Regions from separate parts of the Homo sapiens genome. Here region 2 is linked to region 1. The links are contacts of gene promoters, found by promoter capture Hi-C in human tissues and cell types (Jung and others, 2019). All regions are on one chromosome and are shown on one strand. Each heading gives the region's core, a stretch centred on a gene start or on the middle of the fragment in contact. The rest is flanking DNA. Distances are from core to core; before and after follow the strand shown. Region 1 holds the start of IL12B (interleukin 12B). Region 2 overlaps LOC124901123 (a long non-coding RNA gene).

Region 1 (3,150 bases), core at 7-2,506:
ACGGCGAGGAAAGTTAGCCCGGAAATCTGCGCCCGCCTAAAACCCGGCCTGGTCCCAGCCACCGCCCCAGGAACTTCCCCCACCGCAGGGGCGGAGGTCGAGAGCAGGGATGGAGAAGTGGACCTGCGCGGGTGGACTCCGGGGCGCGGGTGGACTCCGGGGCGCGGGGGGACTCCGAGGAGCGGGTGGACTGTGGGGCGCGGGTACCGTCTCGCAGCGACCTCTGTCGGCGGCTCTGGGGATGGCCCGCATCTGTCTGCGTGTACCTGGTATACGTGCAGGTACATGTTCCTGTTCACGTGCAGACTGGGCGGGGGATGGGGGGGTCCACACCGGTGTACACCTTTGCATACCTCTTAGCAACTTGAAATTCCACCACGAGAGATATCTTTATTCCGCTATTCCTGTGCATCTGCACGGAGCCCCTAGGGCCATAGATTTGTGTGCAAATGAAATGAGGATGTAGTCTGGGTGCCCAAGGGGGGGTGCCTTGAGTGTGGTTGTCTGTATGCCTCCCTGAGGGTATTTCACTTTCTGCTCCCATCCGCCCCTATGAGCGAGTACCTATGAGCACAGGATGTGCACATATTTGAGTCTTATTAGTGGTACACGCAGTTTTATCATCTCCCCAGGTCTGTGTCTGTATGAAATGTGCATGGGTGTGTGTGTGCACGCGTGTGTTCCCACTCGGGGAATGTGGGGAGAGGTGCATGGAGCCAAGATGGGTGGTAAATAGTATGTTTCTGAAATTAAAGGACTAATGTGGAGGAAGGCGCCCCAGATGTACTAAACCCTTTGCCCTTCATCTCATCCTCTCTGACTTGGGAAGAACCAGGATTTTGTTTTTAAGCCCTTGGGCATACAGTTGTTCCATCCCGACATGAACTCAGCCTCCCGTCTGACCGCCCCTTGGCCTTCCTTCTTCCTCGATCTGTGGAACCCAGGGAATCTGCCTAGTGCTGTCTCCAAGCACCTTGGCCATGATGTAAACCCAGAGAAATTAGCATCTCCATCTCCTTCCTTATTCCCCACCCAAAAGTCATTTCCTCTTAGTTCATTACCTGGGATTTTGATGTCTATGTTCCCTCCTCGTTATTGATACACACACAGAGAGAGACAAACAAAAAAGGAACTTCTTGAAATTCCCCCAGAAGGTTTTGAGAGTTGTTTTCAATGTTGCAACAAGTCAGTTTCTAGTTTAAGTTTCCATCAGAAAGGAGTAGAGTATATAAGTTCCAGTACCAGCAACAGCAGCAGAAGAAACAACATCTGTTTCAGGGCCATTGGACTCTCCGTCCTGCCCAGAGCAAGGTAAGCACTTCCCAAGCCCCTACCTCCCTCCCCTCCCTGTGGGCCTGCAGCTGTCCAGGTGTAGAAACCGTTAGTGTGCTACCCCAGCAGCTGGCAGGAGGGAGTTGGTGGATTCCTGGAAGCATCCCTGGTGAGTCATCTGCTGGAACATTAGTGAAAACTTAGTACTCTAGGGACCGATGTACAGTGTCCATTTTAAAAGCCACCTAATAATAACTGTATAGCAAGATCTGTGTGTATGCATAGTTTGTGGAAATGTTTGTTTTATCTTATTTTGAAGTGGTGTGTATTGATGTATAAAAGTATATTCCTAAATGTTAATGCCCATCAGTTAAAGGATTGTATAGAGCTAAAGTGAGTGGTGCCTGCCTTACTATTGAAATTTTTAAAAAGCCTTTCGTGCATTCCTTAAAGTAATTGGATTCATAATTATAATAATGTTACAAATCAGACTTGCTCCCATATTTGTGATGGTCTTGGTCGTCAGTTGTGATATCAACCAAAATGACAGCTGGGATCCCCATTCTTGTGGATTAACTAACTTTGGCCCCAGTTAAAAAATGAAAAGCTATTATTGCTTCCTAAAGAGTTTTTAAATCTGTGAGAAGGGGGAAAAAAAGGTTTTTTTACTTGCCCAGGTAAAATTGTGTGCAACAACAATGTCATTTTAACAAAGGGATTACTAAACCCCAGGTGATGACCCACTTTTTCAAACAAGGAATTGCAAGATACTAGATGGAATGTGGGTAACCTCTTAGAGTTTAGTTTACTGGAATCTGAAATTGTATGATTTCCGTACATTCCTTCATGCTACTAATAAGTCATGGAATCCCTCTGTGCTGGACTCTGGGGGTAAAGTGCAAAACAAGATAGACATGATCCATGGCATAAGAGAGTTCACTCAGTGTGGCAGAGAAGACAAACAGTAAAGAAGAGACTGTATTGTTGCCATTGTAGTAAATGCTGTGGAAGGAGGGGAGCAAATAGTGGGTCCTGACTTCATCTAGGCACCATGACACTTCACGTGAATTATGTCACTAACTCCTTACCACAGTAGCATGCCCATTTTATAGATCAGGAGTGTGGGGCTTAAAGGGGCCAAGTGACTCACCCAGAGTCACACAGTTCTAGAAGTCTGCCTGGCCCTCAAACTAGGGATCTTTGCATGTGCCACCCATGCCATCTGTGACTATATCTTTTTATTCTTTAATAATAACTCCCTTTTCTAATTAAAGGTAACAAACAAAACTTAAAAAAGAGATGCCCACCCAAGCGTCATTGGCATGCTGATGTTGGCACCAGTGTTGGGAAGCCCTTAGCATACTCCAGGAAGTAGGAGTGTGTAACGTGGGGTCCCTTTGTCCTTCATGCAAGGGTTTCAAGAGTTTAGAAAACCTATGAAATTGCACACACAAAAATGTGTTTTAATCATCAAGACTCTCAGACTTACCATGCTGAGAAATGTGGGCTGAGGGATAGCGCTCCCTAGTATCAGCTGATGGGCCAGAGAGCCAAAGGAGGAGACCCACCACCATCACCTCTCCTGGACAGTGCTCTGTGGTTTCAAATGTAGGTGATACTAAAATGGGAGTTGCTTCTTAGAACCATGGCCGGGGTTCCCTTGACCCTGAAGTGCAGTTCACCTGAGATTGTCAAATGCATCTGAGGCATGCAGAGGAAGTGCTGGGCACACAGCTAGTGGGAATACCTCAGCGTAAGTGGCCAGGAGATGCCAGGAATCTCCACTATTTCCCTTCCAGTGTGCCAGCCTCTGGGTTTTACAGGCGCATGTAATTGCAGTACCTCTGTGCACATTTCCCTACTGCCTAGAATGACTTT
Region 2 (3,496 bases), core at 343-2,842, 180 kb before region 1:
GAGATGGTGCCGGAAAGTAAGATTGCCCATCACGAACTGCTGCAGCAGCCAGGACAATGCAGCCAAGAAAGGACAATGGGTTCAGCACCCAGGGGTCATTAGTGGCCCTCAAGAGGCTGCTTCAACAGAGGAGTGTGTCCAGACCTGATATTTAAAGCAGTTTACAGCAAGCAACTGGTTGAGAAATCGAGGCTTCTAAAGTAGACCTACTCATTCAAGAATAGCAGTAAATATAATGATATCTGCATGTTTTAAAATTACAGGGAAGCAATGAATCAAGAGGAAAGGTTAAAAAATCAGACTTTAATAAAAATGAGTGCTTATCTTATTTTGCAGATAGAAAAGTGCAAGAAAGACATGCTATTAGAGACAGAAATAAAAATCCAAATTAACTGGACCAGCTGAGACTCTGGACTGGGAAAACATGAGTCTGAACCACTACAGGGTTCTCGGGGAGTTGTATCTTTCCTGACACACTGTTTGTTCACCCTTTTCTTTGGGCAACAGATGCCATTCCTGACCACATGGGTTGTCCTGTAAATGGTCTGGCCACTTGTGATACTTCATGCCACTGGAAACAGTAGTCAGTTGACCTAATGTGACTCAAACTAAGCCAGCCAGTCTGTCTCTCTGAGATTGGTGTATGGGCATTGGAAGAGCAGTCTTCTCTCTCCATTAGATTGTGAAGCTGGGGTCACGCAAGAGAAAGGCTTAAGCAGCCCCCCACGCATGAGCAACACAGATTAGCAATGACCTGGGCAAAGGGGATTTCTCTCTCTCAGCACCCATACGTAAAATCCGAAGAAAGGATCTCTGGACATGTGAAGGAAGCCCATTCATAAGTAGGAAAAAATGAGGCCAGTCCAAAGAAAGATGGAGAGAGAGAGAAAAACAAACAACAACCTTCAAAACTCTGAATCTAGCCAAATCTGCTCCCCATCCTGGACTTTCTCCTTTATTGGGCCATAATCAAAGAGTCCAGTTGTTTTCATTTCTAGCTGCCACAGATAAGTGAGAACATGTGCTTTTTGTCTTTCTGTATCTGGCTTGTTTCACTTAACATAATGACCTACAGTTCCATCCCTGTCGTTGGAAATGATGGGATCTCATTCTTTTTTATGGGTGTATAGTACTCTTTTTTATATTTAAGGAAGTTTGAAGTGAGTTTCTCTAGCTGGCAGCCAAAATAGAGTTCACTAACATAACTCCCATTGAAGCCTCAATCAAACCTCAATAGGTTGCCCTGTGAATGGAAATTAAAATTTTGACCTGCTGGAGCCGCTGAGAATGAATATAATTTTTTTAAAAAGGCATGGAGCTCTGTCCTCAAGAAACTCATAGTCATGGGAAGTTTTTTGCTTTCCTGCTACAAATAGGAAATCCTTCAGAAAGGTTGATGATGTCAGTGTAGGTATGTGTGGTGGGAGAGGGAATGGCAGGGGAGGCACAATCCTCTTCCAAAAGATAAATAATAATGACCAAGCTAATTATCACACTTGACAGATACACACAGGAGCCAAAGGGTGGTGCGCAGAGCTTTGTATGTTTCTCATTGAGACACATCAGCCCACCTCGAGCCTCTCATTGGGCTTCCAGACATCTTTTCTCTCTTGCCTAGCTTTTCCTTCCTTTCTTGGGATTCCCTTGTCCAGTTGGCCCTTTGGGCTCCCCTGCCCTCCCTCCAGGGCTCCCAGAAAAGCAGCTCCATTCACTCCCATTGGGAGCTGAAGAGAGTTGAGTCAGATTCCTTCATGGAAGGGGGCTTTGGGCTCTTTGGTAAAACATCAAAAGCTCAGCAAATTTTGCTCTAACAATGCCATCTCTCCTCTCACAGCACCTCTTCCATTAACTACTGCATTTGGAAATGTTTGTCTCTTTTCTCTGTCTTACCAGAAGCATTTTCCCCAAAAGAAGGGTGGGAAGAAAAGACAATTAGAGAGGGACCAGTGCTCAGGAACAGTCTTAGAACTCTCCCACAGGGCAGGCCACTGGGTGGCACAAGCTGAAGGATTCTGGGCAGTCCCCCTTCCCTCCCTCCACAAAAGCAATATGCTGTCTTATGCTTGGAACATCACTTACAAACTGTAAAGCCATGCTATGCAGCTATTAGATATCATTTTTTAAAACCCTACTCCAAAAAACTCTTTCCATACATAGTAGACCTGCAATAAGGAGGGTTTTTAAATGGAGGGATTCCATTGGTTTATAGAATTATTTTCAAATTCAGAGACCCTTGCACTGTCTTCCCCATGCTGCTGGTGAAGAAGTGAATCATTACAACCTTCCTGGTAGGTTATTTGGCAGTGTGCCTCAAAAGCCTTAAAAATGTTCATTTTTTTTTGAACCCCACAATTTTAATTCCAGAGCATGAATGGGCTCCACCATTTACCAGCCATGTGATTTAGGCTCTCTGAACCTCAGTTTCCTCATCTCTAAAATGGGGATAATATCATAGGCTGGTTGTGAGGATTAAATGAAATATATGGAATGCCTTAGAATGATGTCCAGCATACGATTACATGCTATGTGTGAGCTAAGTAAGTGATCAGAGAGAGAAGTAGAAATACATCTCAGTATTATTTTAATTGACAACATTTAGAAACATGTCTAATAATGGATTGTTAGCTAAACTAATTATGTGGATCCATAAGATGGAACATTACATGCCCGTTTTAAAAATCATGTTTTCAAAGAATATTTGATGATATGGGAAGATGTTCATAATATATCACTGGGCAAAAAAATTCGCGTTTTGAATAACATACACAGTATAATCTGAATATCAATATAAAAGGTAAAGAGAATACTTCAAAGTATTATTGGCAGGTATCTCTAAGTAAAGAACCTTTTCTGCAATGGAATCACCTGGGGAACTTAATAAAACAATCCTGCTCTAGGATACCATCCCTAGAAATTCTGATCAAATTGGCCTGGGCTGTGACCTGGGCCTCAGGATTCGTATTTTCTTCCACATGCTTGGATACTTTCCCTAGATTTTTTCCCCAAAGTTTTCTAAAATAAATATGTATCACTTTTATAATTAGAAATTAAAACCATAAATGCTGTTTAAAAGACATTTCAATTACCCCCACGAGAGTGGCTGACTAAGCAATGATTTTAGTGACTGGCTTACCAGATAGTTTTCTCCCAGGGAAAGCTGGAGTTTGGCAGAGGAGGGAGAAGCAATTCAGAGTATGAGTCACTGCCCTGGGGAACAGACCTAGGAGGGGCACTAGATGGGGAAGGAGGTGTGGGGCTCAAGGTGAGGACACTGGCCACTTGAGGGGCCAGGGCAGGGACTGAAGAGGTCCTACTGACCAGCTTTACAGGCTGAGCCTGTTGCACAGGCCACTCGGTTATTTATGGCCCTTCCTGTCTGAGGCCTTGCTAGGAGCCCCTTGTGATACTGGGGTTTCATTTGTGTGTGTCAGCATTATGCTTTCTCTTTTCCAGCAGACAGTCTTGATAAGGGGCGGGAGGAACGGACGCAACAAGG

The links. The method cuts DNA at HindIII sites, captures the fragments that hold promoters and counts their contacts. A contact is called where the count stands out against the background at its distance.
Region 2: a fragment that was not itself captured here is called in contact with the fragment with the promoter of IL12B in region 1 in 1 of the 25 tissues and cell types used here (hippocampus).

What each region holds. Positions count from the first base shown.
Region 1 is chr5:159,328,593-159,331,742 of GRCh38, reverse strand. IL12B (interleukin 12B) reads left to right here and starts at 1,256. Exons shown (of 8, transcript NM_002187.3): 1 at 1,256-1,311. IL12B-AS1 (IL12B antisense RNA 1) reads right to left here and starts at 225. Exons shown (of 5, transcript NR_037889.1): 1 at 1-225. The HindIII fragment of the contact is 3,117 bases long and covers 1-1,967 here.
Region 2 is chr5:159,504,894-159,508,389 of GRCh38, reverse strand. LOC124901123 (a long non-coding RNA gene) reads left to right here. Exons shown (of 2, transcript XR_007059022.1): 2 at 3,454-3,496. Among named protein-coding and RNA genes, the nearest start is that of LINC01845, 40 kb to the right of the region's middle. The HindIII fragment of the contact is 8,633 bases long and covers 1-3,496 here.